Linked DNA regions of Homo sapiens: region 2 is linked to region 1. Evidence: promoter capture Hi-C in 16 types of primary human blood cells and fetal thymus (Javierre and others, 2016). All regions are on one chromosome and are shown on one strand. Each heading gives the region's core, a stretch centred on a gene start or on the middle of the fragment in contact. The rest is flanking DNA. Distances are from core to core; before and after follow the strand shown. Region 1 holds the start of TESK2 (testis associated actin remodelling kinase 2). Region 2 overlaps ZSWIM5 (zinc finger SWIM-type containing 5).

Evidence for each region. The method cuts DNA at HindIII sites, captures the fragments that hold promoters and counts their contacts. A CHiCAGO score of 5 or more calls a contact.
Region 2: a contact is called between a fragment that was not itself captured here and the fragment with the promoter of TESK2 in region 1, in 2 of 17 cell types (erythroblasts and total B cells). The highest score is 7.5, in erythroblasts.

What each region holds. Positions count from the first base shown.
Region 1 is chr1:45,489,788-45,492,643 of GRCh38, reverse strand. TESK2 (testis associated actin remodelling kinase 2) reads left to right here and starts at 1,481. Exons shown (of 11, transcript NM_007170.3): 1 at 1,481-1,792. RefSeq lists enhancers at 1,193-1,487, 1,774-1,823 and a silencer at 1,324-1,543. The HindIII fragment of the contact is 2,357 bases long and covers 849-2,856 here.
Region 2 is chr1:45,035,407-45,038,262 of GRCh38, reverse strand. It overlaps ZSWIM5 (zinc finger SWIM-type containing 5), which reads left to right. Exons shown (of 14, transcript NM_020883.2): 9 at 1,964-2,224; 10 at 2,440-2,575. Among named protein-coding and RNA genes, the nearest start is that of UROD, 25 kb to the right of the region's middle. The HindIII fragment of the contact is 4,650 bases long and covers 1-2,856 here.

The sequences.
Region 1 (2,856 bases), core at 232-2,731:
GCTCAAGCGATTCTCTTGCCTCAGCCTCCTGAGTAGCTGGGACTACAGGCACGCGCCAATACACCCAGCTAATTTTTCTATTTTTAGTAGAGACGAGGTTTCACCATGTTTGCCAGGATGGTCTCGATCTTCTGACTTCGTGATCCCCCTGCCTCGGCCTCCCAAAGTGGTGGGATTACAGGCGTGATCCACTGCTCCCGGCCCTGGCCATATTTCTTAAACTTTATGGCCACCAGGAATGCATACCACTTATACTCTTCCAGGAGGATGAAAGTCTTAAGATGTCTGAAAAGGGGTCTCTAACCCCTGGGAGTGCTAATACAGTAAGGCCCATACTGCTTGCTCTTGCCCTCCTCCTGTTCTAGTCTCTTCAGTCATGAGATTATGAGCTCCTGATGTCCAGGCACATGCAAAAAGTGAAGAAATATGTGCCTTGAACAGCTGGGCAGAATTCTTAGCTGGGAGCGGTGGCTCACGCCTGTAATCCCGGCACTTTCGTAGGCCAACGTGGGCCGATCACTTGAGTCCAGGAGTTACAGACCAGCCTGGGCAACATGGTAAACCCCGTCTCTACAAAATATACAAAAAATTAGTCAGGCATGCTGGCGTGTGCCTGTAGTCCCAGCTATCCGGGGAGGCTGAGTTGGGAGGATCATCTTAATCCAGGAGTTTGAGGCTGCAAGTGAGCCATGATCGCTCCATTGCACTCCATCATCCTGGGCGACAGAGTGAGACCCTTCTAAAAAAAAAACAACCAACAAAAACAACAAAAAATCCCAACTTATTCCCCACCAGCTTTCTTTCAAAATCTGTTTTCAAGCTAGCTGAAGTGTTACCTCCTCTAAGCTTTCACTTAACCGAATCTCATAGTCATGATTAATTGCTTCCCTAGCATTTTGTTTAGCTCTACTGATTGCTCTTACTATTTCAAGTCGGTATTATTGATATATTTTTTCCTCCTCACTATACTGAAATCCTGCAGGACGCAGCATTCTTACCGCTTTTCCTTACTCAGCTATACCTTGACCAACCCGAAAGCCGCGCCAGTCTAGTCCATTTTCTATTGGCTTTATCAATTACCAATCATTTCTGTGTTTAACATTTTTATTGGTCCATCTTGTGTTTACTGCCCCGCCCTCTAAGAGGCTCCTGGACTTGGGTTTCCCCCAGGTGTATTCCCTCCTCCTCGGTTCCGCCTTTCCCACACACTGCTTCTTCTGTTTTTACCTCGACTTCCTTCCTATTGGTTCCCTTCGTCCTCCGGAGTTGGCACCTACGGCTGTTGATTGGCTTTTCTGGACGCCCATTGTGCCCACCCTCATACCACGTGGCATTCCTAGCGCTAATTGGGCAATTCCACTACCTCGTTTATCAGGAGTTGACGGTTGACTGGCTACTCTGAGGGAGGGCTTGAGGGAGGGGCGTGGCCAGCCGAGACCCCGCCCCCAACCCCCCTGCTGGGCCGGGTAGGCGTTTCAGTCTTTCGCGGCCCGGGAGCTCAGCAGAGCTACCAGCTGCCCTGTTGGCTTCGCTGGTCGGATCGTCCTCCTGGCCCCGCCAAACAGGCGGGGGGAGCGGCCCCGACTGTGGGGCCATGGCAGTAGTCTCCTCGTTCGCCGCCGCCGCTAGCCTAGCTGAGTCGCCGGCTTCTGCGCTAGGGGCTCCCACCGCCTCCGCAGGCTAAGGAGCCGCTGCCACCAACGAGCTGTGAGGGTTACTATGCTCCCTCTTTGCCGCCGTCTCCTCCTCTTGCCCGCGCAGGCACCCCTCTGGCTGCTCAGTCCTGCCTCAGGTAACGTGAAAAGAGGACGGGGGTCACAAACCCGGGCATCCTGCCTGGCCCGCGCGCGCTGCCGCTCCACCTCCTCTGCCCCGGAGCAGAGGCGCCTGCGTCCCTCCGCACCCGACGGGACCCCTCGGCTTCCCAGAGGTCCCCCTCTCAGCGGCGGCGGACGCTCCCTTCCTGGCCGCTTTCCCCTTTCCTTCTCACTTCCCTCAGGCTCCCCGCCACGTCTGCTCCCCCTTAGAACCTGGGAACCCATTAGAAGTTACCTCGCTCGCATTAGGGATCTTTCGTTTTCTCGGAAAACTCTTGTTTCAGAGACTTCCAGCTCCCCACTGAGCGCCTCCCTGCTCGCATACCCGCTCCTGCCTCAGAGATCTGGGTTCCTTCACTTGACTTCCCTCCGATACACTCTTCCCTCGAAAACGTTCACCTCTACCCAGGAAAACAATTCCCTCCCCTCAGACCCTACTGCCTTCCCCCTCTTCTTTCCTCGCTTGTCATCGTCTCCCTTCCTTTCCCCTCTCTGCTTTTTACTCTTCGCTGTGAAGAGTGGACTAAGCCAGTGTTCAGATTTCGCTACAAGCGAAATCCAGGTTTGCGTAATTTAAAAGTCTTTAAATTGTATACCTCTGAGAAGAACTTGCTGAGGAATTTGGACTTCATGCTGCATGCATGGGGAGCCGTTGAAGGTTTTGTAAGCAGGAGCTTGGTATGATTGCATTATCTTTGGTGAAAATATAGAGGAAGGATTGAAAGTGAAGACCGTGGAGGCGGAAAGGCCAGGTAGGCAGAAAACGAGTGTGCTCATCCAGGCGGGAGGGAATGGCCCGAAATTCCAAGAGGTTTCAAAATAAAGTTGAGAAGAATAGTAGAAAGTTTCTGACTTGGCTGATGGTGTGAATCGGTAGTGTTAATTGAAATAGGGAACATAGTCTCTGGTTATACCACCCTCAACGCTCCTGATCTCATCTGAAATAGGGAGCATAAAAAAGCAATTTTGAGAGAAGGTAATAAATTTGGTTTTGAACAAGTTAAGTTTCAGGGTTTGTTTGTTAGTTTTTGTTTTTTTT
Region 2 (2,856 bases), core at 154-2,653, 450 kb after region 1:
CATAATAATATTTTCTGGTTTCCTTTGAACTTTCTTCCACATGATGGTTTTGTACCAATTTTACAAATAAGAAATAGAGGAGAATAATTTAATAGAGCCTCAAGACTCTATTAGAGTAGCCAAGAATAGATAGAGACAAAATTGATTCTTTTTTCTTTTATACCTTCACTTACTGTATACATATATCTACTTTAGTATTTAGCATGCTACATTACAATTTATTTACAAATAGTTCTCTCTTACTAGACTGTCAGCTACTTGAAAACAGAAATTATGACTTCTTTATCTTTGTGTTCCTAGCACTTAGTGGAGGACCTGACATTTAACAATCTTTCATAAATACTTATTAGATAGATGAGGGAGAAAAGAAAAGAAACCAAGACTTTGACTTTTAAACCGTGCTTACTTCCTGAAATTGTGCACCCACTGGTGGAGCATATGAGATAATAGTAACATAAAGGTTGCAAATGTTACAAAAGTTAAGAGTTTAACTGTAGGGATTCAGATTTCTCTGGGTAGAGATATAAGGGGTGGCCCCAAGCCAAGTGCAGGCTGCTCCTTATCTTCCCTCTGATCCCTTGCAAAGTGAATCATCATCTTTGGTCTGTTTCATCTGTACAGTGACATTTACATCTTGGAAACCTGAGTTTGCACTTGGGTTTATTCATTCACCACTAACACATAGCAATACCTAGAACAACAAGATGGTCTAATCCCTTTAAGGTGTTCACATTCTATGAAAGAGACAGAAACAAAAACAGACAATTACAGCATTACATAATGTGCTAGCAAAATATAAGATTTTATACTTCCCTAACTGGCTTAGCCAGTTCATATATTAAGAAGGAGATGGGCCGGGCGCAGTGGCTCTCGCCTGTAATCCCAGCACTTTGGGAGGCCAAGGCAGGCAGATCACCTGAGGTCAGGAGTTGGAGACCAGCCTGGCCAACATGGTGAAACCCCATCTCTACTAAAAATATAAAAATTAGCTGGGTGTGGTGGTGTGTGCCTGTAATCCCAGCTACTCAGGAGGCTGAGGCAGATGAATTGCTTGAACCCAGGAGGCGGAGGTTGCAGTAAGCCGATACCGTGCCACTGCTCTCCAGCCTGGGAGATGGAGCGAGACTCCCTCTCAAAAAAAAAAAAAAAAAAAAGGAGGTGGGGCTGGGCATGGTGGCTTATGCCTATAATCCCAGCATTTTGGGAGGCCAAGGTGGGAAAATCACTTGAGCCCAGGAGTTTGAGACCAGCCTGGGCAACATAATGAGACCCTATCTCTACAAAAAAAAATTAAAAATTATCTGGGCATGGTGGCATGTGCCTGTAGTCCCAGCTACTCAGGAAGCTGAAGTGGGAGGGTCGCTTGAGCCCAAGAGGTTGAGGCTGCATCAGTGACCCATGATTGCACCACTACACTCCCGCCTTAGCAACCAAGCAAGACTCTGTCTCCAAAAAAATTAAAAAAGAAAGAAGTGTGAATCTTTGTGGCTCTGTGTAACCTTTTTTTCAGTATATTTTCCTTACTATTCTGGGGTTCTGATTCAGCTTCCCTATGATAGCTGTTGACCAAGCTGTATCCCAAAGGTGGGAGGGAAAGACAGAAGACTAGGCCGAATACGGTGGCTCACACCTGTAATCCCAGCACATTCGGAGGCCGAGGTAGGCAGATCACCTGAGGTCAGGAGTTTGAGTCCAGCCTGGCCAACATGATGAAACCGCCCCTCTACTAAAAATACAAAAATTCGACAGGTGTTGTGGCATGCTCCTGTAATCCCAGCTACTTGGGAGGCTGAGGCAGGAAAATCGCTTGAACCGGGGAGGCGGAGGCTGCAGTGAGCTGAGATTGCACCACTGTACTCCAGCCTGGACAACAGAGCAAGACTCTGTCTCAAAAAAAAAAAAAAAAAAGAAAGAAGACTCTACCAAGCCTAACCTAAAGAATTTGGTGCCCTGTTGCCCTCAGATATGAATGAAAGCAGACCCCCTGTGTACCAGCATGTACCTGTGGCTGCAGGCTCCCCAAACAGCAGTGAGTCCTACCTGTCATTGGCCCTGGAAGTTGCACTGATGGGCCTGGGTCAACAGAGGTTAATGCCTGAAGGCCTCTACGCACAGGACAAGGTATGCCGTAATGAGGAGCAGCTCCTGAGCCAACTCCAAGAGCTGCAGCTGGACGATGAGCTAGTGCAAACACTGCAAAAACAATGCATCTTACTGCTGGAAGGTAAGTAGAAAAGAGTCTCTTGTCACGGTGTCTTTGGCCCATGACCCTGAGCTCCCCTCTCCAATAGAGTACAAGTACAGGAACATTTATGACATTAAAATGTAGTGAATGAAGGTTCCCATGATTAGCAAACATGCATGAGATACTGGGGCTCAAGTCCAGGCTGGCAGATGGAAGCATACAGATAAATAACTGGCTGGCTTATCTTCCTCCAGGAGGTCCTTTCAGCGGTCTGGGAGAAGTCATCCACCGAGAGAGTGTTCCCATGCATACCTTTGCCAAGTATTTGTTCTCAGCTCTGCTGCCTCATGATCCAGACCTGTCCTATAAATTAGCCTTACGTGCCATGAGGTGGGTAGCCCTTTCCCAGTCCAATTGCCTCCACCAAAGCAGAAGTGTCCAGTGCTCTTTTTCATTGCTTATTTCACTTTCTTTTCTTTCCCTCTTTGTCATTCTGTTGGACCCGCTACCAAGTGTACCTTAAAATGGCTCAGATATTTTTATATGATCTAGGATTCATATCTGGATTCCTTGTTGGTGACTTGGTTCCCTGGCAGTACTCATGGTTGATTGTCTGAGGAAGCCCCTGAGATGTTAATAAATAAGGAGCACTTAAGACCTGAGTCTTCCTG